3 separate regions of the Homo sapiens genome follow, and regions 1 and 2 are each linked to region 3. The links are contacts of gene promoters, found by promoter capture Hi-C in human tissues and cell types (Jung and others, 2019). All regions are on one chromosome and are shown on one strand. Each heading gives the region's core, a stretch centred on a gene start or on the middle of the fragment in contact. The rest is flanking DNA. Distances are from core to core; before and after follow the strand shown. Region 1 holds the start of LTBP3 (latent transforming growth factor beta binding protein 3). Region 2 holds the start of FOSL1 (FOS like 1, AP-1 transcription factor subunit). Region 3 holds the start of SNX15 (sorting nexin 15).

Region 1 (5,069 bases), core at 1,803-4,302, 530 kb after region 3:
CTTCCCTGTGTACTGCACACCCCAGGACCCATCTCCCTCTTGCAAATGTGCCTGCCTCCTGCCTCCTGGCCTCATCCATGCCCTTCCCTCCACAACAGGGCCCCAGGTCCCCCCCCTCTCTATATATGCAGATCTCATCCTTCCTAGCTCAGTGTCTCCACCAGGAGGGAGGCTTTCCTCCTATCCGGCCCCCCTGAGCTCCCTCTCCTGCCTTACCACCCACTGGCCAGCTCTGCCTGGCACCTGCTTGGCTATGTTCTTGTCTGTCTGCCTCCTTATAGAGGGTGCTCTGGAAGGCAGGGCCAGGCTGGCCTCAGCTCTGGGTCCCACAGGGGGTTCGGGGGAATGAATGAAAGAATGACTGAGGGAGAGGATGGGACCTCTGTCTGTTTCTGTCCCATACTCACCTTCAACCTGTGCTACTACCAGCCTTGGGGCTCTGACTCATCCCAAAGCCCCAGCCCTTCTCCTGCCCACCCCATGGCTGCCCTCACTTCCCAGGGCAGGAGGGCAGGAGGGCGGGGGTGCTGCTCTCCTGGATGCCAGAAGGGCCTCACAGGGACAGCCCATATCCATGGCCCTCAGGGTCAGGCTAAGCACATCCCAGCCCAGCCCATCCTGCCTGGCCTCTTGGGGCCAGGCCTCACAGAGCAGAGGGGTGTGTCCTGGGCGGGGGGAGGTAGGATTCTCTTTTTCCTTTCTGCCAGTGAGTCACTCATAGCGGTGAGAGTGACCTCCCAATGACACCCGCCCACTGTGGCCTGGGCACCGAGCCTGGGGGATGTGGGCAGCACAGATGGAGACAGCAGCCTGGGCAGGATGGCCAGGGAGCCTGGGAGATGGACACACGTACACTCACACCCACAGTCCTCTTGTCACACACACACAGAGACTCATCCTGACACCAACACAGGTTCACATAAACATTCCCATACATTTGGCCGGGCGCAGTGGCTCACACCTGTAATCCCAGCACTTTGGGAGGCCGAGGCAGGTAGATCACTCGAGATCAGGAGTTTGAGACCAGGCTGACCAACATGGTGAAACTCCATCTCTACTAAATACAAAAAAATTGGCCAGGCGTGGTGGCGCATGCCTGTAATCCCAGCTACTTGGGAGGCTGAGGCAGGAGAATCACTTGAACCCAGAAGGGGGAGGTTGCAGTGAGCTGAGATTGCGCCATTGCACTCCAGCCTGGGTAACAAGAGCAAAACTCCATCTCAAAAACACAAAAACAAAAACATTCCCACATACTCTCTAACAGCGACTAGAGACACACACCCAAGACAACACAAAGACGGGTACTTCACAGTGTGCCACGCCATGCCCATGGCATGACCCCAGACACAGGGGCAATATGCGCACAGACACACGCACGCACACCCCATCTCATGACAAATTTGAGCCACATGAGTGGGGTTCCTTAGCTCTGTGAGTGGGAGAGTGAATATAGGAATGTGTAAGAGGGGCTGTTTTGCTGGTGCCATCCTGGGCCTGGCCTAATTACCCTGTCCAGGAGGGTAATTACTGCTGGGACACCTCCCCGAGCCTGGCCCACGGGGCCTAGCAGGAGGATGACTGAGCCCCAGGCCTGGCCCTTTAAAGAGAGATGCTGGGGAGGGGGTGGACTCCAAGCTGAACTGGGGAGGGTGTAGGGGCTTGGGGGAGGATGAGGGGGGCCCTGAGGGCCTCTGAGGCAGGATGTTAGGAGCTTATGGGGAGGCATTGGAAAAGGAGAGGCTGAGAACCCCGAACTAGTCCCTACCTTCAGGCCTGCACCCTACTTTTAGGCCTCAACACCCTCCCTACTCAGACCTTGCCAGTAGCCGGCTCCCATCCCCAGCCCTGACCTTAGCTCCTCCTCCCAGGGAATGCAGGTGTCTACTCTGGCAGGCCCTACTTTAGACATTTTGTAAAGACTTTTCTTGTTTCTTCCAGCAAGTCTGCTTCTTGCGGGAATATTTAGCCCTTCTCTGAGGCTTCCTGTCCCCGGCTCACATTCCTCAAAAACCCTGTGTGCTCCTGCTCAGAACTCAGCACCTTCTGGGAAGCCAGTGTCATCCAGGACCTCTGCATTTCCCCACCCCTTAGGCCCCAACCCTAACGCAAAGCTTCAAAGTCCAGGCCTCCATGCAGCCCTCCAACTCTGGCCCCCAGAGTTCCAGCCTCCCAAGTTCCCTGAGGCCCCTGGTCCCCCAGGCCCTCGGATCTCTGCCCTTTATACCCTCAGCCCCCAGTCTCTAAGGCCAAGACCCCACTAGCTCTCCCACCGGGCCTGGTGCCTGTCCTTCCCCTGCCCCCAGCCGTGCCCCCGGCCCTCACCCACGCGGAAGCCGGAGCCCGTGAGCGTGTCTGTGCTGTGGCCGTTCTCTCCGATGAGCGTCATGTTGGAGCCCTGCTGACAACTGTCCCGACACTGGCCCTTGAGACAGGTCCGCTTGCAGATCACCGGCGCAAAGACCACCTTGAAGCGCTCGCGGGCCAGCGCCCCGCCCCCGCCTGCGCCCCGCTCGCCGGCCGGCCCCCCCTCGACCCTGCCGCCCAGGCCCAGCAGCAGCAGCAGCAGCAGCAGCAGCAGCGCCAGCAGCCCCGCCGCCCCCGCCCCGCGCATCTCAGGGGCCAGGCCGCCAGCAGCCCCTCGGGGCCCGGGCATCCGGGGCCGCAGGACCCGGGGGAGGGGGGGCGCGCCCGGGCGGGGCGAGGGGCCCGCGCCCGAAGGGAGTAGAGGGCCGGGAGCCCCGGGAGAGGGTAGGGGGCAGCGAGGGAGGGCAGCGGGGGAAGCGGGCGGGAGGGGACCGCGGGGGCCCGGCGGGAGGCGCGGAGATGCAGACTGGACAGCGGGGAGCGCAGAAACTTCCCAGCCCCAGGACGAAGCCCAGACCAGGCCCCGAACTCAGGCAGGAGCGAGGAGGCCGGAGCAAGTTGAGGCGGAGAGGAGGAGCGAGGGAGAGGAAGGCCGGGCGGCCGGCCCGCTCCGCGCCTCCCCCTGGCCGGGCTCCTCTCCCGCGGCCGCGGGGAGGCAGGGAGCGCGCGGGGAGGGCTCAGGGAGAAGTGAGCAGTTGTTTTCCCTGGCTGGAGCGCGGCGCGGCGGCGGCGAGGGGGGCTGGGACGCTGGCCCCGGGCCAGGGACACAGTTTTTTTTTTTTTGTTGTTTAAAGCGTCGCCTCTGCCGCCTGGAGAAGCGAGGGTGTGCAGGCTGGCGGAGGCTGGGGGGTGGCGCGGGGACAGTCCCCACCCCAGATGCCCGCCCCCGCCGGAACCCGCGGCCGCGCTGGGCCCTTTCCAGAGGGCCCTCACCTGGGACCGTCTGGCCGGCCGCGGATTCCTCCGGGCGGGGCGGGGCGGGGAGGCCTGCGTAGAGCGAGATACCGAGGCTGAGGGAGAGAGGTGGCCCTGCCGGGTCACACTGACGATGGAGGCCGGGTGGAGCCGGAGCCCAGGCCTTCCAGCTCTTTCCCAGCCTCCCTTGCAAACGTGGGGGTCTCAGGGCCCCAAAGTAACTTCTCGTTAGTGCTGGTCCAATCCCCTCTGAGGAAAGGGCTAAAGGGTGGGGACAGCCTTTGGCCAGGGCTCACGGAGGTCCCAGGAGGAAGTCTGTGGGGTCCAGAAGAGGAGCAGAAAGAACAAAGCTAGAACCCAGCTTCCCTGCCAGCCCCCTCGGAATGGCTTCCTGGTGCCCACCCTGCCACCTCCCCCCTTTCCTTTCGTCTGGCCGTGCTGGCGGGGCTGGCTCTGGGCCTCAGACACTCTGGAATCGCCAAGGTCTGAGCTCAGGGCCTGGCCCCCTTCCCAGGCTAACAGCCGGGAGGACGGGGGCGCTGTCCGAGGGCCCAGGGGCTGGAGAGGGGCACAGCAGAGCCCCAGGGCAGGGGCTGGCAGCGGCTGGGGGTGGGGGTCTTCAGGTTGGCCATGGCTGGAGAGGAGCATAGTTCCAGACCAGGCTTGTCCGCTGGTCTGGAAGGAAAGGCTGCAACGTGCGGGGGCCCAGGCCTTACTGTGGGGCCTGCCAGGAGACCCCAGGGTTCCGTCTCTGACTCACAGAACTCAGCAGGAGGTGGGGACGGCTAGGGCACATCCAGGAAAAGCGCTGCCAAGTCAGGGCGGCACCAGACCCTCTCCCGGACAGCACCCGGGGCAGCAGTCTAATTGGGGAGAGGAGGTTCAGGGACTCACTTTCAGGCACACCTGTCCAAGGAACTCTGTTTTTACTTTGAGCGTAAGTTGATGTGGGTAGCTTTAGGGGGACGCTTAGTAAGTCCCCCTTACTAAGCGGTGCAGGGCTGGGAGGGACAATCACATGTCCCCAGGGATCCCTGCTGCCGGAATCCAGGATGGGGTGTGAGGGGCAAGCCCCTGCTTCTTGGGGCCCTGGTCCACACGGAGGCAGGGAATAATGCTAGGTGCCGACCACCTGCCAGGCACAGGGCTGAGCATTGTATACTCATTTTTTCCTAACACTCATCTGAACCTGTCCTGACTCTGCCTAGAGCTGGCTGTGGCTCACCATGGAGCACAGCACAGTCAAACAGTCCAGGGTTGGATTCTTACTGTCTCTAAGCCCCAGTTTCCTTGCTTGTGAGATGGGTATCTATTCACTCAACATCTATGTTCAACTACTGGTAATAAAAAACAAAAAATTAAAAAATAAATGTAAAAAATTCACTCAACAAACTGAGACTCCACCACATCCTAAGCTCTTGGCCACAAATAGAACCAGTCCTGCCTTCCTGGAGCTGCTGTACTAGGAGAGCTGGATATGTGCCAGATCAATTCACACAGAACTGTGGCTACAACAGAGGCTGGTACCGTGACAGAGAAGGGCAGGGAAGCAGGACAGGAGAGGGCTGGGACCTGGGAGACAAAGAGAGTCTTCCATCGGAAGCTGGAAGATGAGTAGGAGTGAGTCACACCTGTGGGCATCTGACCTCAGGGGAGGCTGCAGGGGGAGGCTATCCAGAGAACTGAGGGAAGGCCAGTGGAACAACAGGGTGTGGTGGAGAGGGAGAGCCGAAGGTGTAGTGGTGGTGGGAGGGGCCGGCCATGGTGAGGAATTTGCTTTTATTCTCATT
Region 2 (4,954 bases), core at 1,237-3,736, 870 kb after region 3:
TTCTTGAGACAGGGTCTCACTCTTTCACCCAGGTTGGAGTGCAGTGACCTGCGGGCTCAAGCAATCCTCCCACCTCAGCCTCCCAAGTAGCTGGGACTACCGACGTGCACCACCACATTTGGCTAATTTTTTTTTTCTTTTCTGTTTTTTTTTTTTTGAGACACAGTCTTGCTTTGTCACCCAGGTTGGAGTGCAGTAGCCCGATCTCGCCTCACTGCAACCTCCACCTCCTGGATTCAAGCAATTCTCCTGCCTCAGCCTCCCGAGTAGCTGGGACTACAGGCGCCCACAACTGTGCCCGGCTAATTTTTGTATTTTTAGTAGAGACAGGGTTTCACTATGTTGGCCAGGCTGGTCTTGAACTCCTGACCTCTGGTGATCCACCCGCCTTGGCCTCCCACAGTGCTGGGATTATAGGCATGAGGCACCGCGCACGGCCTGGCTAATTTTTTTTAAATTTTTTTGTAGAGACAGGGTCTCACTAGGTTGCCCAGGGTGGTCTCAAATTCCTGAGCTGAAGCAGTCCACCCACCTCAGCCTCCCAAAGTGTTGAGATGACAGGCTTTAGCCACCTGGCATGGCAGGCTGTCCCAATTCTAATCTCAGCTCTCAGCTACTTACTGGCTGTGTGACCATGGGCAAGTTATTTAACCTCCATGTGCCTCAGTTTCCTCATTTTTAATATTGTTACAGGTGAGGATTACAGGATTTCACTGATGTTAAGAAGTACCCTTTAATAGCTCTGAAATCATAGTTTAATTGGCAATTTAAAAAATTTTAGTGGACTAGGCATGGTGGCTCATACCCAGCACTTTGGGAGGCTGAGGTAGAAGGATCACTTGAGCTCAGGAGTTTGAGGTCACACCGGGCAACACAGTGAGACTTCATTTCTACAAAAAAATTAAAAAATTAGTTGGGTGTGGTGGTGCGTGCCTGTGGCCAGGTCGCTTCCCAGCTAGGATCTCAGTAGGATTGCTTGAGCCCAGGAGGCTGAGGCTGCAGTGAGCTGTGATTGCACCACTGCTCTATAGTCTGGGCAACAGAGGGAGACCCTGTCTCAGAAAAAAAAAAAAAAAGAAAAGAAAGAGAAGGAAAGAAAATTAGTGGCATAAAGTTATAGTGGGTTTTTTTTTCAATCGATGAGGTCTTCGATTCCGTGAAATATGGTAAATGATGTAGCAAGCGCCCAGCACAACGTCCCTGTTCCCATTCTATCAGCCAGCTATCTGAGGAGTGGGTTGGGATGGGGCTCAGTGTTCTGGGAGAAGTGGGTTCTAGCTCTGCCGCTGGGCCCTGGGTGTGGGCGCCCAATCGTCCGGGAAGCGCCCACAAGCCCAGGCAAGTCCCGACAGCGGTAGCCCGAGCCCAAGCGCTGCGGGCCCGGCGTCCCAGTGACCCCAGTTCCGGGTCCGAGGCACCGCCGGCGGCATCTCCCACTCCCGGGCCCGGGCCGCTCCAGGCCAGGAAGGGAGGGACGCCCCGGGTGACTCAGCCGCCGTGACTCGGCCGCCGTGACTCGGCGGAACGGACGCCCCTCCTTCCCTCCCCTGTCGACACGTGCTCGCAGCCCCTCGACAGGAAATGGGCACCTGCAGCCTCCCGGGTGCCCCCCGGCGGGCAGCGGGCGCCGTTAGGGGCTGAGAGTGGGGTCGCGAGAGTCGCCCGCAGCCTGACCCCGCGCACGTCCCGGAACCTCGAGGTCTCTATTCGCCGCATTCGGCAAAGGGATCGAGGGCCGGTCTCCGGGGACCTGGCAGGTTCCACTGCCCGGACCCCCCTGGACTCCCCAGGCCGAGAAACGATAGGGACTTGGCGACGGAGGGGCGAAGGACAGACAGACGGACGGACACGCGGAGGGTCGCAGACCGGGCCGGGACTCCCACCCTGGCCCAGCTGCTCTCCCGACGGATCCCGCCTCCCTCCCGTGTGGGGACCCTCACCCCAGCCCAGACTCCAGATCCCAGGAATTCAGCCCGAAGCGGAGAGACCCTCCTAGCCTTCGAGGCGACCACCCTAGGCGCCCACGCCCCTTCTGAAGCAGGGTGGACGCAGAAGTCAGAGGTGGGCAGGAGGAGAGAAAGCGGGCACGGAGACGGAGGGACGGACGCGGACGGCGAGGGAGAAGGGGGCGGCTGGGAGAAGGGGAGTTCGCGGGTCTCTGCTGCCCGCTGCGCGGTGGGGGCAACTGGCCCCGGACGGCGAGGGGCAGGATCCTCGCCCCAGCCCCCAGCCCGGCCCCGACTCCGGTTCCCCGCTCCAGTCCCGGAGCGTGCGGGAGTTGACCCCGGCCTCCCACGCGCGGTCCTCCCGTGGGACCACCGGCGTCGGGCCCCACTCACCTGCTGGGCTGCCTGCGCTGCGGCCGGGGGCTGCGCGGGGCCGCCGTACCCGCCGCCGTTCCCGGAGCTCGGGCCGGGTTCCCCGAAGTCTCGGAACATGCCCGGGGCTGGCGGCTCTGCGGGGTACACGGCTGCTGGGTTCTGACTCACCCGCGCCGTGCGGAGTCTTTTCTTTTTATGAATGAAAAGTTCTCGGGCTGAACCACTGCGACCGCGGGGGGTGGGGGCGTTGCAGCGGCGCGGTCACCTCCAGGCTCCACCCCCGAGACGCGCCGCCTTGGCCCGTCGGTCCCGAACTTGGCGACGCCTCCCCAAGTCCGGCTGCAGCCTTTTCACCGGGATGGGCCCGGCTCGGCGTTCCCCGGAGGCTGCGGGCCCGCCCCCCTGACGTAGCTGCCCATACATGGTGTAACTTCCTCGCCGCGCCCAGGTGGAGCCCCGGGTTCCCCTGCGGACTGACGCACCTGCCAGAGCCCGCGCCCCGCCCCAGCCCTCTCGAGGCCTGGGCTAACCTCCGTTTCTGCTCCCACAAAATAGCACGAAAGAATCACATCTCTAGGAGCCACGCCAACCGCCACCCAAAGCTTCGTGGAGTGAGGTCTTTCCACTGGCCTTGTTTTAAGGCTTCGAGTATATGAAAAGTGAATAAATGACAAACCAGGGTTACAAAAATGGTGGCATATTTTATTTTACTTTATATTTTTGAGACCGGGTCTCTGTCACCCAGGCTGGAGTGCAGTGGCTCGATCTCGGCGCACTGCAGGCTCAACTTCCTGAGCTAAAGGGATTCTCCTGCCTCAGCGCCCCCTCCAAGTAAGTGGGACTACAGGCGCGCGTCACCACACCCAGGTAATTTTTGTGTTTTTTGTAGGGATTGGGTCTCGCCGTATTGCCCAGGCTGGGTGGTATATTTTAAATGTTTGCGATAAGGTAATGCTTTGAACTAACCCCACATAAAATGCAATATAATAGTATTACTCAGGATAATTTCAGGAGCTATAACGAGTTTTAATTCAGGGCCACTACAGGTGTCCTGAGGTCTGATAAACGCCATCTTCATTACGGTCAGTGCCTTTCGGAGGCTTGTGGCCACCAGACTTGTTTGGAGAGTATGTCAAAGGTGAGTGAATGTGAGGCAGGTATCATCCTCATCTCTGTTTTACAGATGGGGAAACTGAGGCTGGGAGATGCTGAAATGAATTGCTTGAAGTCGCTAAGTGAGTAGCTGGCACAGGTTGCCAAGTCACAGCCGTGGGCACTCCAAGCCCAGGCTCAGCCAAGATTTTCAAAGCCCTTACACCTTCACAGACACCTTGTCGCACATCCAGAATGTTAGTGCTGGGCACCATCCCAAAGCTTCTCTCTGATTACTTCCATCATAGATGAGGAAACTGAGGCCCAGATGGAGTACTGAGCTGTCAGTTGTCACACGACTACAGAAAGAGGGCTGGGGCCAGGTGTGGTGGCTCATGCTTGTAATCCTAGCACTTTGGAAGGCCAAGGCAGAAAGAACCATTTGAGACCCCATCTCTACAAAAAATTATAAAATTTTCTGGACATGGTGGTACGCCTGCCTTGTGGTCCCAGCTGTTCTGGAGGCTGAGGCGGGAGGATGGCTTAAGCCAGGGAGGTTGAGGCTGCGGTGAGCTGTGACTGCGCCACTGCAGTCCAGCCTGGGGGACAGAGCAAGACTCAAAGTAAATAGATCAAGAGAGGGCTGGGCTCTCCTGCTTCTCCATCGGTCCTTCCATTTCATCAGCTCTAGCTTTGCCCTCTGGGCTACTTTCCTTGGGAACACAGGCCAGAAGCCTGTGGGTGCACTCAGGACTTAGAGCCAGGAAGTCCAGATTGCCCCTGGGGTTCTAGTCCCAGAGCTACCATTTTCTGTCTGTGTGACACTGGGCAGGTCACCTTCCTTCAACTGGGCCTCCCTGCTGATCTCACAGAGCTGTTGTGGGATCAAGTGAGATCACAGATGTGAAAATGCTTTGTAAGCTATAAAGTGTTATGCACTCAGAAAGTGGTTACCAGCCTGGTGCCTCTCCTTTGCCTTTGAGCGACCCAATGCTTGTCACCCTCTTGTCATCATCATCTCTGTGTGTGTGTGTGTGTGTGTGTGTGAGAGAGAGAGAGAGAGAGAGAGAAAGAGAGAGAGAAAGGAGAGGAGAGTGTTTTTGAGGCAGTATGATCCGTGGACAGAACACCCGTGCTGGGGTCAGACAGCTCTGGGGTCTGGGTTTGAATGTGGTTAGGCTGCTCACCAGTTGTGTGACCTAGGTGAGGCACACAATCTCTCAGAGCCTCTTTCATTATCTGTGAAATGGAGACATAATGATAACTATCTCAAGGGTTGTTGGAGGACACAAGTAATGTCACATGCTTAGCACAGCACATAGTAAGAATTTGACACATAGGCTGGGTGCCGTGGCTCACGCCTGTAATCCCAGCACTTTGGGAGGCTGAGGCAGGTGGATCACGAGGTCAGGATTTCGAGACCAGCCTGACTAACATGGAGAAACCCCGTCTTTACCAAAAATACAAAAGTTAGCTGGGCATGGTGGCCCATGCCTGTAGTCCCAGCTGCTTGGGAGGCTGAGGCAGGAGAATCGCTTGAA
Region 3 (4,826 bases), core at 1,512-4,011:
TAAGCTCTCCCAGGGGCCGGGGAGGCTTCCTGGATGGGCTGACCCTTGAGCAGGGAGGGAAGGGTCTGCGGTCACTGGCCACCACCAGCACCTTTGTTCTCCCAAGCCCTGCATCTGGACTCTCTGCAGCCACCACTGGTACGTCAAGGGCTGCAGCCCCACTGCTGGGGAGAACCCACTGCCTGGCATTGACTGGCTCCTGGATGACATTTCCTCCAGAAGGTTAAGTGCAATCTCTGCCTGCCGGGTTCAAGCAACTCTCCTGCCCCATTCTCCCGAGTAGCTGGGATTATAGGCACCCGACACCACACCTGGCTAATTTTTGTATTTTTAGTAGAGATGGGGTTTCATCATGTTGGCCAGGCTGGTCTTGAACTCCTGATATCAAGTAATCCGCCCGACTTGGCCTCCCAAAGTGCTGGGATTACAGGCATGAGCCACTGCACCTGGCCCCCAGCTAATTTTTAAATTTCTCATGAAATCAGAGGCAGCCTGTTGCCCAGGCTGGTCTTGAACTCCTGGCCTCAAGTGATCCTCCCGCCTTGGCTTCCCAAAGTGCTGGGATTACAGGCATGAGCCCCATGCCAGGCTTTGCTTCTTTCTGAAGACCAAGGCACCGCACCTGTACACCTGAATTCCAGGAACAAGAGTGGCTATTCACAATGCTTCCTCTGCAGTAAATACTATGTGTTGTATGTAAGCCTACCAACTTCATGCTGCATTTCAACAGATTTTTGCTTCAATTCTAACACTGACTGGAGCAAAGGTCTCAAAACCCATGCCAGGTTTGGGAACACCAGTCTCCACGTGGCCCACACTGACAGTACCAATACCACCAATTTTGTGGACGTCTGGAGGGGCAGAACCAAGAGCTTGTGAGTTGGTGGTAGGATGTGATCTAGAGCTTCCGAGCAGCGTGGTTCCACAGCATCGCCATCTTTACAGGTGACTTTCCATCCCTTGAGCCAAGGCATGTGAGCTCTTGGCTCCCGCCTGTTGTGACCACTCCAACCAGATATTGGCACAAATACTACTATGTCAGAGTTGTAGCCAATTTCTTAATGTAGGTGCTGATTTCCTTAATGATTTCTCCCATCTCTCCTTTTTTTTTTTTTTTTTTTTTTGAGACGGAGTCTCACTCTGTCCTCTGTCTCCCAGGCTGGAGTGCAGTGGCACGATCTCAGCTCACTGCAACCTCTGCCTCCTGGTTTCAGGCAATTCTCTGCCTCAGCCTCCCAAGTAGCTGGGATTACAGGCACCCGCCACCATGCCCAGCTAATTTTTGTATTTTTAGTAGAGACGGGGTTTCACCATCTTGGTCAGGCTGGTCTTGAACTCCTGACTTCCTAATCCACCCACCTCTGCCTCCCAAACTGCTGGGATTACAGGCGTGAGCCACCACGCCCGGCCCCCATCTCTCCTCTTTAGGGTGGCTCATTGGGATCCATTTTGTTAACACCAACAATTAGTTTCACACCCAGCGTGTAAGACAGAAGGGTGTGCTCACGCGTCTGCCCATTCTTGGAATTACCAGCTTCAAATTCATCAACACCAGCAGCAACAATCAGGACAGCACAATTAGCCTGAGGTCAGGTTTTTGATAAAGTCTCTGCATCCTGGGCCATTGAGGATGGTCACATAGTACTTGCTGGTCTCAATTGCCAGCAGGGAGGTATCAGTGGTGATACCACTCTCACGTTCAACTTTCAGCTTACCCAAGACCCAGGTATGCTTGAAGGAGCCCTTTCCCATCTCAGCAGCTTCCTCAAAATTGTCGATGGTTCTTTTGTGGATCCCACCACACTTGTAGATCAGATGGCCAGTAGTGCTGGACTTGCCCAAATCAGATGATGATGTTGAGCTGAGTCTTTTCCCTCCCCTGCTCCCTTTCTTTTGAGATGGAGTCTCACTCTGTTGCCCAGGCTGGAGTGCAGTGGTGTGATTGCAGCTCACTGCAGCCTCAACCTCCTGGGCTGAAGCCATCAGCCAGCTCAGCCCCTGGAGTAGCTGGAATTACAGGCGTGCGCCACCACGCCCAGCTAATTTTTGTATTTTTAGTAGAAACGGGGTTTCACCATGTTGGCCAGGCTGGTCTTGAACTCCTGACCTCAAGTGATCCACCTGCCTCCACTGCCCAAAATGCTGGGATTACAGGCGTGAACCACCGCGCCAAACCCCCATTTTGGCTTTGATTTAACGGTGGTTTTCACGACACCTGTGTTCTGGCAGCAAACCCATCGCAAAAAAGCTCCACTGCCCTACACAGATTCTATTATAAACATCTCCATTCTACAGATGAGAAACTGAGGCTGAGTAGTTAAGGGAAACTCCTACAGCTAGTAAGAGTCGTGACTCAGAGCCCATGACACCATCCTGCTTCTCCAACCTTCTTTGCTTCCTCTACTTTCCAGAAAACATGAATTAGGGAATCCTGTGGAGGGAGACAGGGAAATAATTTGACGTTGTCCTGTACATACTGGACACAATAAGAGTTGGGTGGATGAACGAAAGCAGGGATTTAGGAAGCGGGGAGAAGTCGTTTGGAAGTCTGTGACAAGGGTTTACGCTTGGATAGGGTGGGCTTGATCACCCGGCAGAAATGAGACGAGTGATCCCAGCCTTCCCAACCAATCTTTCCAGTGACCTGGGTTTACGCTTCACCACAGAGAAGGAACTTTTCAGACGCTCCCTTGGCCGCGCACCCGGGATCGGAACAGCGCTGTCACTTGCGACAAAATCCCTAGGCCAGAGGAAGAAGAGCGCAGGCCTGGCGAGGCGGCGGCGGGCGGAGGCTGGGCCGGAGGGGTGGGGACGGCGAGGAGGTGGAGGCCGGCGCTCCGCTCCGCTCCAGCTCGGTTTCATGTCCCGCCAGGCGAAGGATGACTTCCTGCGGCACTACACAGTGTCGGACCCCAGGACTCACCCCAAGGGCTACACCGAGTACAAAGTAACCGCGCAGGTGAGGTGGGGCCCAGCGCGTACTTTACCCTTTTAACTAGAGGGGCGCCGAGTTTTACCTTAAGGAAAGGCGGTGCAGCCACTGCTCCCTTTTTAGACGACAGAAATGGGTTTCCCCTTTAAGGGGAGGTTGCAGTACGAGGCTTAGTTTACATCTTTAACCACCAGGGGGCGGGGTCCTGGGTGGGCGCTGTCTTTTTTAAAAGGGCGTTGACGGCCGTTCCCGGACAGGCAAGGCGTGTATGCCCACGCCCGGAGTGTAGTGTCTGGGCATCAGGCTGTGAATTTCTCTAAATTAACATGAAAACTCTGGTTTAATCCAAATATTAGTACTCCATTCTCGTAGAGTAAGTTTTGTTTATTGGTTTGTTTGATGTTACATAAACTCCCTTTAACGAGTTTAACCATTTTTAATTTTTCAAAAAATAATACTGATCAGTGGTTGAAAAAAATTGATGCAGTTCAGAAGGACTTAAGGAGTAAGTCGCCATATCAAGGTCACAGCAGGAAGATAGATAGGCTAGAGTTGATATATGAAGCGATAACAACATCATAAGCACAATTTATAGAGAGACATGGAGGAAACCATGACAATAATTAAAAATGAAACAGTAAAACAGGACACCTGTAGAATGATAACAAGAACTGGTAACAAGGAAGGTCCCCAGGGAGAGGAACTGTGTCACTGGGGACAGGAGTTAGGGGAAGACTTTTTACTGTAAATTTTTTGTACTTTTAGAATTTTCAACCAGGCGACTATTAAGCTGGTGCATTAGTTAACTCTAAAAGCAAAGCAGGCACATAAGGACACTTCCAAAGTGATCTAAGTGCAGAATCTTAGCTATTTAAAATATGCTTTCCCCAAACCGTTTACGTCTTTTCCATGCCTAAAAATAATGCAAATAAGGCCGGGCTCAGTGGCTCATGCCTGTAAATCCCAGCACTTTGGGAGGCTGAGGCAGCAGATTGCTTGAGCTCAGGAGCTCAAGACGAGCCTGGGCAACATAGTGAGACCCCGGATCAATATTAAAATACAGACACACACACAACTTTAAAAAAAAAAAAAAAAAAAGCAAATAAATAGATTGTCCCTGGGAAGATAGACTGGAGGTGGGGCTGGGGTGGGGAGGATGTGGCAAGGAACTGTAACCTTTTATTATAAGTCTTCCCAGTGGTGGCCGGGCGCGGTGGCTCACGCCTGTAATCCCAGCACTTTGGGAGGCCGAGGCGGGCGGATCACGAGGTCAGGAGATCGAGACCATCCTGGCTACCATGGTGAAACCCCATCTCTACTAAAAATACAAAAACTTACGGGCGTGGCAGCGTGCACCTGTAGTCCCAGGTACTCGGGAGGCTGAGGTAGAAGAATGGAGTGAACCCGGGAGGTGGAGCTTGCAGTGAGCCGAGATTGTGCCACTGCACTCCAGCCTGGGAGACAGAGCGAGACTCCGTCTCAAAAATATAAATAAATAAATAAATAAATAAATAAATAAAAATAAGTCTTCCCAGTGGCTTTTTTGTGTCGTTGTTTTGTTTTGTTTTTGAGACAGAGTCTCACTGTCGCCCAGACTGGAGTGAAGTGACTCGATCTCAGCTCACTGCAAACTTCCGTCGCCCGGGTTCAGATTCTCCCACCTCAACCTCCCAGGTAGCTGGGACTACAGGCACGCGTCACCATGCCCAGCTAATATTCGTATTTTTTGGCAGAGATGGGGTTTCACCATGTTGGCCAGAATGGTCTCGATCTCTTGACCTCATGATCCACCCGCCTTGGCCTCCCAAAGTGCTGGGATTACAGGTGTGAGCCACCACACCCGGCCTCCCATTGGCTTTTTAAACCAAGCAACATGCATTACTTTGATATATTT

Evidence for each region. Contacts are between HindIII fragments. The study calls those that stand out against the background at their distance.
Region 1: a contact is called between the fragment with the promoter of LTBP3 here and the fragment with the promoter of SNX15 in region 3, in 1 of the 25 tissues and cell types used here (aorta).
Region 2: the fragment with the promoter of FOSL1 here is called in contact with the fragment with the promoter of SNX15 in region 3 in 1 of the 25 tissues and cell types used here (dorsolateral prefrontal cortex).

The regions. Positions count from the first base shown.
Region 1 is chr11:65,555,307-65,560,375 of GRCh38, forward strand. It overlaps LTBP3 (latent transforming growth factor beta binding protein 3), which reads right to left and starts at 3,053. Exons shown (of 28, transcript NM_001130144.3): 1 at 2,323-3,053. The coding sequence starts at 2,653. RefSeq lists silencers at 2,882-3,121, 3,172-3,331. The HindIII fragment of the contact is 15,125 bases long and covers 1-5,069 here.
Region 2 is chr11:65,897,902-65,902,855 of GRCh38, forward strand. It overlaps FOSL1 (FOS like 1, AP-1 transcription factor subunit), which reads right to left and starts at 2,487. Exons shown (of 4, transcript NM_005438.5): 1 at 2,340-2,487. The coding sequence starts at 2,438. RefSeq lists silencers at 1,358-1,585, 1,551-1,670, 2,279-2,878. The HindIII fragment of the contact is 4,995 bases long and covers 1-3,309 here.
Region 3 is chr11:65,024,678-65,029,503 of GRCh38, forward strand. SNX15 (sorting nexin 15) reads left to right here and starts at 2,762. Exons shown (of 8, transcript NM_013306.5): 1 at 2,762-2,959. The coding sequence starts at 2,861. It overlaps ARL2-SNX15 (ARL2-SNX15 readthrough (NMD candidate)), which reads left to right. Exons shown (of 11, transcript NR_037650.2): 4 at 2,641-2,959. It also overlaps the pseudogene EEF1A1P18. RefSeq lists an enhancer at 2,580-2,874 and a silencer at 2,724-2,893. The HindIII fragment of the contact is 29,710 bases long and covers 1-4,826 here.